3 separate regions of the Homo sapiens genome follow, and regions 1 and 3 are each linked to region 2. Evidence: promoter capture Hi-C in human tissues and cell types (Jung and others, 2019). All regions are on one chromosome and are shown on one strand. The core of a region is centred on a gene start or on the middle of the fragment in contact, and the rest is flanking DNA. Distances in the headings are between cores, read along the strand shown.

Region 1 (3,733 bases), core at 664-3,163, 130 kb before region 2:
CGTGATATAAATGTCAGTTATTATTATTACAATTTCAGCCTCACGCTTATGCTCTTGATCCAGTCCCTGATCTGGAGTCTCTGCTACTCCCAGGGACTGGCGGCTTTGCTGAAATGCTGGAGGCAAATTTGAGCTTTGAGGCTCCATCGGGGACAAAGAGGACCTCGCCAAGTTAGGCTGTCCTGCCTTTTCTTCTAGAATAATGCAAGGCCTTGAGAGCCAGCACCACTGTCAGGGCCAAGAGCTGTTCAGAGCAGGATGGTCTTGGCGCTCTGCGGAGCCCCCTGGGCCAAAGCAGCCAGGAATATCAAGGCCACAGGCTTAGCCCCCTCACGGAAACCTGGGGTGTTAAAGCTTTCGGGGCTTCAAGAAATTACAGCCCCATTCTCATTTTATGGAGAGGGAAACTGAGTTTAAAGAGGGGCGGTGGCTTGCCTAGCCCAAGGTCACATAGCAAGTTAATTAAATTTATGGAGAAAAAGGCAGTGAATGCAATTAGTGAAGTGGGGGAAGTCTTCAAAAAAAAAAAAAAAAAAGATGCAGGCAATTTATTGGTGACAAGTCTAGAAACTATTTTCCAAGGAAATGGGGAGTCCTGGGACTTCTCTTGAGTTCACAGAGGCAGGCAGCCCTTCACTCCTTCAAGACATCCCACCTTTATGCCCCTGATGGCAGACACCGCACCTAGAGGAAGGGACTCGGCCCTGACCCAGCGTGTAATTACCAGTGCGAGGTAGGGGGCAAGCTGCGATGTTAATCAGCATCACCGCTGAAGAGTGAGTGTCTGTGTGCGTCTTTTGCCTCCTCTCTGAGAGGGGCTGTGAAAGTACCCCTCGCAGGATGTAGACGGGAGTGTGTGTGTTTATGTGCTGGAAATGGCAGCAGGCAAGTTGGGGATCTCATGTTCTTGGACTCATCTGTCCTTGCAGAGCTGCAAGGGAGCCTAGTGGCTGGTTATTCCCAGGACCCTTCCTGATGCCATCTCTGCTACAGAATTCCTGACAGGTGTTTGCTTGTTTCCAGTTGGGCTCACCCACATGTTCCCTGCAGCCCATTCCATTTGAGGTGGTTCTGGGAAAGCCTGCCTCCTCCTCACTGTCTTTGGTTCTTAAATCTGTGTTCTGTTTTGGGGACGACACAGACAGCATCTCCCCTGTCCCCTTCTGAGTGGAGGCCTGTTGTTATCCAGCACCACCATTGACAGAAGTCATGAGCTTGCGGAGCCTGCTGCAGAGGAGGGGCTCAGGGAAGGTTTGCAGAATGAAGCAATTTGGTGCTCTCGACAAAGAATCTGTCTTGGGGCTCTTTAGTGAATCCTTTCTACACTGGTTGGCTGGGATCGTCCAGGGGATTTTGGAATCAGAGCTGGATTTGAACCTGGGCTCCTTCACCTGAGCAAGATATTTAATCTCAGTAATTCTCAGTTTCCTCCTCTGGACAATTGAGATAAGAATACTTACTCCACAGCATTACCATGAAGAGGCATGCGTGTAGAGTGTTTAGTACACTGCTGAGCACATGTGATGGTGGGAATAATTATAATGTACTCATGACATATGACACCAGCCAGGTCCTCCTGCTAACATGTTCCTTGAGATGTCCATCTTATTACTGAAGTCCCCAAAGTCCTGCACAGGGCCTGACACACAGACCCCTACCGGAACCTTCCAGCTCCTACAGCCATGTGCCTCTGATTCTTAATGACTGTTGAACTGAACTGAGCTGAATTGAGAGTTCTGTCCTGCGTTTTACAAGCTCAGAGTCAGGCCTTCGGGAGACCCCTTGGGATGAGGCTGTCTGTATTTCCCCGAGGCCAGACCAGCCCTGGTGTGGAGGCTTCCGAGCTGGTTCGAGGTCTCCCCCAGCCTTTTAGAATGTGAAAGCAGCCAATAAGAGTCTCAACTAGAAAAACAAGTGCCGCAGCTCTATTGTTGTGTTTTATTGGAAATAAAATTTTTATTCTCTTTCTTCCCCTCTTCTCCGTGCAAGAAAACCACAGCTGCCTCAGACTTTGAAGTCCTTTTAAGTTGCAGGCCTAGAAGAATGGGAGGGAGAGGGGAGGTCCAGGCCATCCCTTTGGTCGCCATGTTGCCACTCTTGACAAAGAGCATCAGAATGGCAGCTTGTTTTTTCCTCAGTCAATGGCAGAGCTGGGTAGATTGCATGGAAGAGATGCTGTTGGCCTCTCTGGGAACAGAGCAGCCTCCCCCGCCCTCATCTTTATTGGATTTCAATGAGTCTTTCTGCTGTGGGTCATACATGCAGTGCGACCTCATAAATGGAGCGGTGGAATTTTCACTCCCTTTGTACTGAGGGCCTCAAGCATACTCCATCGCCATTGTCAACCCTGGATGGGTAAAACGCAGAAAACCAGGCAGAACTGATTCCTCCCAGGCAGCCCTGAGACCTGGAATATGACAGTTCTAAGTTTCTAGGCACTCGCTAGTCAGAAGGCGGAATAGGGCAGGAAAGCAGAGATGACATTTCCCACCTCGTGCCCCTGAGTCTTCTCTGGAAATCCAGATCCTCACACTTTTCTGTGGAATATATCAGGGCCTTCAAGAGAATGGGCAAGGCTTTGGGCCTCACAGCTTTGCAGTTGTTGCATCAGAGGAAGCCTGTAGCCATGGGAGTTAGAAGGCTCTAGAAAGATTCTGGAGGCCCTGTAAAGCTGAGATGTTTTTAATCAAAAGTTAGTGGATTAAAAGGCCATGTGTTATTTAACTGGATGTGCCTGGTAGCTGCCAGTTAAGTGCCTGTTTTGTGCCACTCGTCCATCCACATATTTTTGAGGGCCCAAAATGTGCCAGCCATTGTGCGAGGAGCCAGCCGTGTTGGGGAAGCAGTGGGAGTCCCTGATGTTGAAGCAGTGGGAGTCCCTGATGTTGTGGTGGTGGCTACAGAAGGCAGCGCTGGTAATAACAGGAAGAAAGCAGTGCCCCCCACCCCACAGATGAGATGTATACCCAGGGTCAGATCTGTTGATGGCATTATTTCTGCACTTACCAGCTTGGTGGGGAAGGTTCCTGCTTTGCTGCATTTTGAAACTGGGAGTTTGCTATGAGATCATCTGTTCTCCCGCTTCTTCCCAAAAGGGGGAACTCAAGGACGGTGGGCAGTTGATCTCTGCCTATTTACTCAGCCTGTAAGTTTCAGAGATGAAGCTTGAATGCATGTCTTCCCGGTCATCAGTCCAGATCTTGTAATTAGATGAAATGGGTGACGGAAGAGTGAGGCTGGTGCACCATGGGATGGCTGTAATTGCCCGTGACATCACCTTGCGTCTGACTTCTGCATTGGAGCTTCACATCTTCCACATGGAGGTGGCTGCTGGCTATTACAAATTGCTGCATGCATTTGAAAAGATATAATTAGAGAAGGAGCATTTCCATTGCAGTCCCACATGAAGGGCTGGGTGTTCACAGTGCAAGTCCTGTAATTCAAGGGGTCGGTGGCAGAGATGGTCCTCTGATGTGAAGAGTTCCTTTGTCCCCCACCATCCCTCCAGACCCCTGTCCTCTGTGTGGTCCGAGACAGGAGTTGTTCTTACAGTCCCTCGGAGGCGTATGGTTCTTCCTTACGGCTGGTTCCTCTGCATCCCTACCACTGGGTCATCCAACTTAAATGCCTCTGTTGTCAAGGTGCTCACTACCTCAGTCAGACTCTTTCCCTGGAGGAGAATGTTCCTCTTCATCCTGAGCTCAGAGCTGCCTCCTTCTGATTTCTGTCCCCA
Region 2 (3,614 bases), core at 351-2,850:
CAGGTGGAACCGATGGCCAGGTTGTACCACTTCCCATAGATCTAGGAGGCAGGTGAGCTCTGGGGGTCTGCATCAGTCTCAGACCTCAAAGCAGACCTGGCTGACATCTGCTCCCCACCCTCCACCTCCTCCTCTTCCTCCTCCTTCTCCTCAAAATGACTTATCCTTTTAAGGGATAATGTCTTACAACTAATCAGAGGCCACACACCTTCAAGGGAGGCCAGATCCCTAAGAGTGGCGTTTCAGGCATCACAGCGAACCCAGGAAGCAGGTGTGCGGCTGGGGTCCCAACCTGCCCTGCAGAAGGGCTAACTCTCTCAAGATGTGGGATCTGTCCATAGCTCCATCAACCACTGCTCCCCAAGAGCTGGAGTCCTGTCTTTTACTCCTCCAATGATGGGGTGCTCCCCACCTTGCAAGGCAGCCCACAGCCCCATGTTAGGAATTATTTCAAAAGTATAATGAACATGATGGGGTCATTCAGGATAGGCCTGCTTCCTCTTCCTCCTGAAAGTGCACGGGACAGCTGAAGGAGCCCTCAGGCTCCTACGGAACAGGCCAATGTGCCCCACACCCTTTGCGTCCCAGACTGCCACAGGGACCTGCTCCTCATTGCCCCTCTGCCACGACCTTTCCTTGTCCCTAAAAGTAAACAAAACCCACATGACACCACAGCTAGAAGGTTCTGAGACCCTTCATACAGACATGGAGACAGCCCCAGGTGGGCAAGGGTATTCTCAAAGCCACCCCGGGATTTAGGGCAGAGTGGGGGCTGGAAGGCAGCTCTGGCACTCCACACTCACAGGAGAGTGTCCTGCCCCAGTCCAGGTCTCTCCTTGTGCCCAAGCCTCTGAATGTCTCCCAACCCTAATCTCTGTCCTGCTTCACCTCTTCCCATAAGCCCCACATGCCCAACCCAAAAGCTGCTGGCCACATGCCCACGCTGTGCCACCCCAGGTGTCTGTCCACAGTCAGGCCAGGATGTGGGCAGGGGACACAGGAAGAGCTAAGGGAAAGATGCCACAGAGAGAGGGGAGTCATTAGAGAAGGAAGGGCTGGGAGGTCTGGGCAAAGCTAGGTGTCTGCACGGGGGCTGCAGGGCAGTGGCAGGCAGGACAAAGCCTTCTCTGGAGCAGGTTCCCATTAACACAAGGGTTCCCCTTGGAGCCCACGAGGACAGTGCAGAAGGTGAGGATGTTTGACTCATAGAATGTCAGCCAAGAGACCCACGGAATGGCAGGGGATAGAGCTGTACCTTCAAAGGATCCCATAATCCCAGATGATCTGAGTGGAAGCCTGAGACCCCGAGACAGGCCGCACTTGCCCAGCAGGGCCCATCTGCCTGGACTCCCCATCACCACATCCACCCTACCACAGAGAGCGGCAGCCTTACCCGAGAGATATTGAAGTTTTCCTGCACTTGGATGTTGTCGGGCGGCGTTGGCACAGGGCCAGCGCTCACCGCCAGGCAGGCGCTCAGCAGCAAGAGCAGGGCCCCGAGGCTCCTCATGGCTATGGGCTCCTCTGCCTTGGTATATCCCACAGGCTCGGTCTAGCAACAGAAGGGCCACCGCCTCCCTGCAACAGGGCAGCTGTGAACTGAGGCTGGGGAAGGGGCCTGTGGCTTGTAGTTGACCTCAGTGTTTGCCCTGCTCAGCTGGGGCCAATTACAGCCCCAAGGACAGCTCCAATCGATCCCTGTAGCCTGGCTGGGGTCAGCAGTACCAAGAGGCCGGGATGGCTGCTTCAGAAGAGGCATTGGCCAAGCACAATAGGGCCCTGGAGCACCAGGATTGGGCTCCGCCCCCCAAAAGTCCCCCACAGAGGGCATGCGAGGATGGGGAGCGACCTGGCCTTTCTGCTGAGTCATGCCATCTGGACCTCACAGCTCTGTGAGCCAGCAGGTCAAGCCTGATTGGGCCCATTTCTCACAGGAAAAAACTGAGGCCCAAGGAGAGGAAGTGACTTGCCAGAGACCTCAGGGAAGTCTATGGGCAGAGCCAAGACCAGAACCCAGGTATCCTGTCTCCAGAGTTCCTTCTCCAGCCCCCAGGCTTGCCCTAGCCTTTGCAAATAATAGAGACATTAACAATGATGACTGTTACGAGCTTCCGTTCACTGAGCACCTGCTATGTGCTGGCTGTGTACCAGGCACTTTACACGTGCCACAGGTGTCCAGTAAATCCCCACAACAAGCTTACGAAGTAGGTGCTATTTGTCCCCTTTACAGGCAGAGGAGTTGAGTCTCCAAGAAGTGAAGTGACTTGCCCAGAATCCCTCAGCCGGGAGTGGAGTAGCTGGGAAAGGCGTGGTAGAGACCATGGACGTGGGAGCCAGGCAGCCTACAGTGGCACTCACTGCTGTGTGACCTTGGGCAAGTCACTTTACCTTTCAGTGCCTTGGTTTCCTCATCTGTAAATGGGGATAATAATAGTTCCTAGCTCCTAGCATTGTTGAGTGAGCACCTGCAATGCGCTAGGACAGTACCCAGCATAGAGTAAGAGCTGAGTGTTTGTGGTGGGTTGAACAGTGCCCCCTCCAGAATCCATGTGCACCCCGAACCGCAGAATGAACCTGATTTGCAGATGTGATTAGTTAGATGAGGTTGAACTGGATGACAGGGGTTTTAAATCCAATGACCGGTATCTTTATAAGAGAATGGTGAGGGAGACTCAGACACAGGGACACAGAGAGAAGCACGGGGAAGATGTGGCGTGACGCCGAAGGCAGAGATGGGAGGGATGCAGTGACACGTCAAAAATCACCAAGGATTGATGGCAGCCACCAAAAGCTAGCAAAAGGCAAGGAAGGACTTTTCCCCAGAATCTTCAAAGGGAACATGGCTCTGCTGAAAATTTGGTCTCAGGTGTCTGACCTCCAGTGCTGAGAGAAGACACATTTCCTAGCAGCCCTAGGAAACTAATACAGTAGTTATTAAACTTAAGGTTTTATTTATTTATTTATTATTTTGAGACGGAGTTTCACTCTTGTCGCCCAGGCTGGAGTGCAGTGGTGCGATCTCGGCTCACTGCAACCTCCACATTCTGGGCTGAAGTGATTCTTGTGCCTCAGCCTCCCGAGTAGCTGAGATTACAGGTGCCCACCACCATGCCTGGCTAATTTTTGTATTTTTAGTAGAGACAGCGTTTCACCATATTGGCCAGACTGGTCTCTAACTCCTGACCTCAGGTGATCCTCTCACCTCAGCCTCCCAAAGTGCTGGGATTACAGGCGTAAGCCACTGCGCTCAGCCTAAATTTAAGATTTTAAATGAGAATTTTTTAAAACCCAGGTCCGTTGTCTGTGAGCTCACACTCTTGCCAGCAATACCAAAGGCCTCTCTATGAATTTCCCTTCTCCAGTGGTTAAATCTACTGTCCTTACTTCCTCCCTGCTCTTGGCATGGAACATTCCATACTCTCAGCCACCTCTCTGTTAGAGCTGGGAATGACCCCTTCGGGCAGGCAGTCCCAAGATTAAGACCCCTGCTTATGTGAGAATCAAAGGATTCCCCCATGTAGTCAGTGCAGAAACAAATGGTGTATCATGTCCCTTCTGTAAGATTCAGTCAGTACATCCCTCTTTCACTGGTATCCAGAACAAGTGTGCTTCTA
Region 3 (3,821 bases), core at 14-2,513, 180 kb after region 2:
CCCATTATTGGGGGTGGGAGTGAGGCCCTGGGACCTGCCTAGGGTCGCCCTGGGACCTGCCTAGGGTCACCCAGTGACCAGAGTTGGGTCTAGCATTCAATTCTGACCTCCTCCTGCCTTGCGAGAGCAGGCAGCTACCTTTTCCTGAGGACTTTGTCACTTCACCTTCTAGAAACTCTAGGGGGTAAGGACTCTTCTATCCCCATGTTATAGATGACAAAACTGAGGCCCAGTGAGTTGAAGTAACGTGCCTAAGATGGCACAATTAGTAAGTGGCCAAACTGGCATGTGAGCCCGGGTTCTCCAGTGCTACAGCCTGCTCTTTTCAGCACTCTATGCCTTGATGTAGAGACTTGGCTCCCGAAATTTCCCAGCGGTGCATTGCATGCCTTCTGAGCTCTGAGATCACTCTATAAAATGGCCCATTCTCACCCAGTCTTTCTGTTCTCCACCATCCGGGAGTCAGAACTGCCTTTTATGGGGCCAAGCCCGGGTCCACACCCTGCTTGCTCTACTGACGAAGGGTCAGCCTGGGACCCAGCCCCTCACATCAGCCCCTCCACAGCAGCTGTTGGAGGGTCTGCTGGGTGATAGCGGCTGGGTTCACACCCCTCAAAGCCATGGGGAAAGGGAAATGGGAAAGTCAAGAGTTCGCTCTGAGGCACCAGATGGGGCTGGGCCTCTCCCTGGTATTCAGAGGAGGGATGAGACTGGCTCTGCCTTGCAAAAGGAGCACGCCCAGTCTGAGAATTGCTGCGGAGCTGGGAGGCTCCTGGAGCTGGCAGAGGGTCCTGGCTGGCCGGTGGATGAAGTTGCTGCTTGAGGTCTCTCAAGCTGGGCCTGGAATCGGGGTGGGGGCGGGGGAGACATTAGGCAGAGGGGTGGCCTGCTTCCCATCTTCTCCTGTGTTCCCTCCGTTCCCACCCTCTGCCCTCTTCAGTTCATGTGCTCCTTGTTCATTCAGCAGATTCCTGAGTGTCTGTCGTGCACCTGTGCCAGGCCAGGTGCCGAGAATTCCAAGAACTAAACTGGCCCTCTCACCCTGTCTCTCTTGCCCCTCTTGTCGTCTGTTCATCAAAACCAAGATGGCTGCCCATTTGCCCGGGGCTGGGCCTTGCTCCCTTCTCATGCCACCCCACCCACTTCTCTGCCTCTGCCTCCCCTCTCCTTCTCTCTTTCTTGATCCTCTCCCACTCTGCCCTCTCCGCCTCCCAAGCTCACCCCAGGCCTGTGTTCTCAGTTCTTCCTCCTCCTCTTTTCCCTGGGAGAAAATATTCAGGAAAATATTGGGTGTCAGGGTGGAGGTGAGGGACAGAACTTGGGTCACCAGATTCTCCTTTCTGGTGGGGGAGAAAAAGGGAGATGAGGATTTGAGGAGACCTTTTGTCATACATGTCATTGTAGTCTGGATGCAGTGGCTCACACCTGTAATCCCAGCAATTTGGGAGGCTGAGGCAGGAGGATCACTTGAGCCTAGGAGTTTGAGATCAGGCTGGTCAAGATAGTGAGACCCTGTCTCCACAAAAATAAGAAAATTAGCTGGGCATGATGGTGCATGCCTGCAATCCTAGCTACTCAGGAGGCTGAGGCGGGGGGATCACTTGAGCCCGGAGCTCAAGGCTGCACTGCACTCCAGCCCAGGCCACAGAGCGAGATCCTCTCTCAATAAATACATAAATGAATGAATGAATGGCATCGTATCTTCTCATTGTTGATTTTGAGGAAAAGGAGAAGAAAATGTCATGCAGGGGGCCTTATCCCCACTCCCCAGACTCCCAGGAAAGGTCGAGGCCCATCCCCCTATAGCCCAGGGCATTGGCTGTGTTCGAGGCTGTGGCTCGCCTGCTGCTTTCCCCAGTGAGCCAGGTGCCCAGTCCTTCCATGTGGAGGCTGCTGGGGCCCCGGCAGCTTCTGAACATGCCCGTCTGAGGGCTGCAGGCCTTCAAGCTTTGCCCCACACTCCCAGCCCCCCGTGTTGCTCTCACTTCCTAAAAAGGGGCCTCTCCAAACTCTTTCTCCTCTTCCCAGGGTCCTCCAGGATCTCGAGGCCCACCAGGCATGAGGGGAGCAAAGGGACGTCGGGTAAGTCGAGCCCAGCTCCTGGGGGCTGATGCTGGTGGGAGGGGGCACACTTGGAACAGGGCCATCTGCCAGAGACTGCCTGGGCTTTGCCCCTAGCCCAGCTCTGGGATCTGTGACTTTCATAGCACAAGGCAAGGTTCTAGGCTCACCCTGGACCTGTCTCTAGGGGTGGGACCCCACCCCTCTTTCCAACTCATTTCTCAGCCTTGCTATCCACCAGGCACAGTCGGGCTCTCCGGTACTAGTTCTTTGTTCATTCATTTATTCAACCAGCACTTATTTAGCACCTACTGTCTGGCGGACACTGTTGGAGGCTCTACAGGTATAGTGGTGAACAGGACAGACATAACCCCTGCCTGCCCTTGTGAGCCAGTCAACAAGTGAATCAAACCACTTGGCAGATGCAGGTGATAAAATACAGGGTCATCAGCACATGGACTGAGGAAGTATTAGCAGCCTGGAAGCCCAGAGGAGGACCCTACCTGGGCAGGGTACTAAGGAAGGACTTTAGGAGAGGGCAGTGCTTGAGTTGATGCCAGCTTCCTGGCAGGGGACTGGCAGGGGAAGACCTGAAGGTGATACAGGAGGTGGATGCTTAGGTATCCTCAGGGTCAAAAGAGGGACGAGGGAGAGGGATGGGGCTGGGACTTAGCAGGCACCAAGCGAGGCAGGGCCTCAAAAGCCACAGCTATACTCCAAGGGCATTGGGAGGCTGCAGGGGGTTTTAAACAAGGCTTCCCTGAGCAGTCACTGGAAGTAATCGCCAGCACTTAATCTATGCCAGATACTGCCTGTCACACACATTAACTCATTTAATCCTCAACACTACCCTGTCATGAAGGTGCTATTCTCATTCCCATTTTATTATTATTTTATTATTGGATTACTTAACCTTTCTCCCAGAAAGCCTTTGATTCCTGGGATAAACTAGGTGCTATGTGATTCAGCCCAAGCCCTGAACACCTCTGAGCCTCCACTCCACTCCCAGAGAGGCACAGAAAGGTTGAGTCACTTACCTCAAGTTGCACAGCTAAAAAGTGGCAGAGCTGGGATTTGAACCCAGGGAATCTGGCTCATTTGCATACTGAATTCAGCCTTATTTTCAATCACACAGGGAGGGTTGACAGGATGGTCTGCCAGCAATAGGTATACAGGCGTGGGGCCGTGCAGCCTTATTGTAAAGAGAAAGTGAGATGGTGCAGGTGGTGCCGGCAGCCCAGGCCTGATATCCAAGCTCCATACGGGGGGATCTGTGATTATTATTCTCCTCTTGGCTGGATTTCAAGTGGTTTTACAATTTCCCCCAAACCAGATGGCCTGAGCAGCCGGCCTGGAAGAGGGAAGATTAAAAGGCATTCCTGTGGCCCAGCAGGGTCCCTCCGGTGCCCATGTCCTCTGGGTGGGGGGGGGGTCTCTTCAAATGGGCCTTGGGCCAAGGGCAGCCAGGCTCCATCCGGATCCTCTGTACCTCCCCTCCTGCCCCAGGAAGCTGGATTTCCTGGAGGGTGAGCTGCATGGGCCCAGGCCCCCTGCCCTGCCTCAGGCGCGGGGCTCAGGCCCCCTTCAACTCACTGGGCTCCCTTCAACCATCTCCACCACCCCTTCCCAGCAGTGGCTTGAAGAACGTATTCCTGCTTAGGGAAACACAGGCTTCCAACCTCGTCAGTGTCTCCCGGGCTGGGAGGGGAGCATCAGGAACATGAGCCCCTCTCCCCACTGGGTTTGTCAGGAATGCACAA

The links. Contacts are between HindIII fragments. The study calls those that stand out against the background at their distance.
Region 1: a fragment that was not itself captured here is called in contact with the fragment with the promoter of AMBP in region 2 in 2 of the 25 tissues and cell types used here (H1 embryonic stem cells and pancreas).
Region 3: a fragment that was not itself captured here is called in contact with the fragment with the promoter of AMBP in region 2 in 1 of the 25 tissues and cell types used here (spleen).

Annotation. Positions count from the first base shown.
Region 1 is chr9:113,945,881-113,949,613 of GRCh38, forward strand. All of the region lies in intron 1 of ZNF618 (zinc finger protein 618), which reads left to right. Among named protein-coding and RNA genes, the nearest start is that of ZNF618, 71 kb to the left of the region's middle. The HindIII fragment of the contact is 6,054 bases long and covers 1-3,733 here.
Region 2 is chr9:114,076,700-114,080,313 of GRCh38, forward strand. AMBP (alpha-1-microglobulin/bikunin precursor) reads right to left here and starts at 1,601. Exons shown (of 10, transcript NM_001633.4): 1 at 1,394-1,601; 2 at 1-41. The coding sequence starts at 1,510. LOC107987120 (a long non-coding RNA gene) reads right to left here. Exons shown (of 3, transcript XR_001746905.1): 3 at 3,241-3,614. The HindIII fragment of the contact is 16,108 bases long and covers 1-3,614 here.
Region 3 is chr9:114,256,513-114,260,333 of GRCh38, forward strand. It overlaps COL27A1 (collagen type XXVII alpha 1 chain), which reads left to right. Exons shown (of 61, transcript NM_032888.4): 28 at 2,029-2,082. Among named protein-coding and RNA genes, the nearest start is that of MIR455, 49 kb to the left of the region's middle. The HindIII fragment of the contact is 4,257 bases long and covers 1-3,392 here.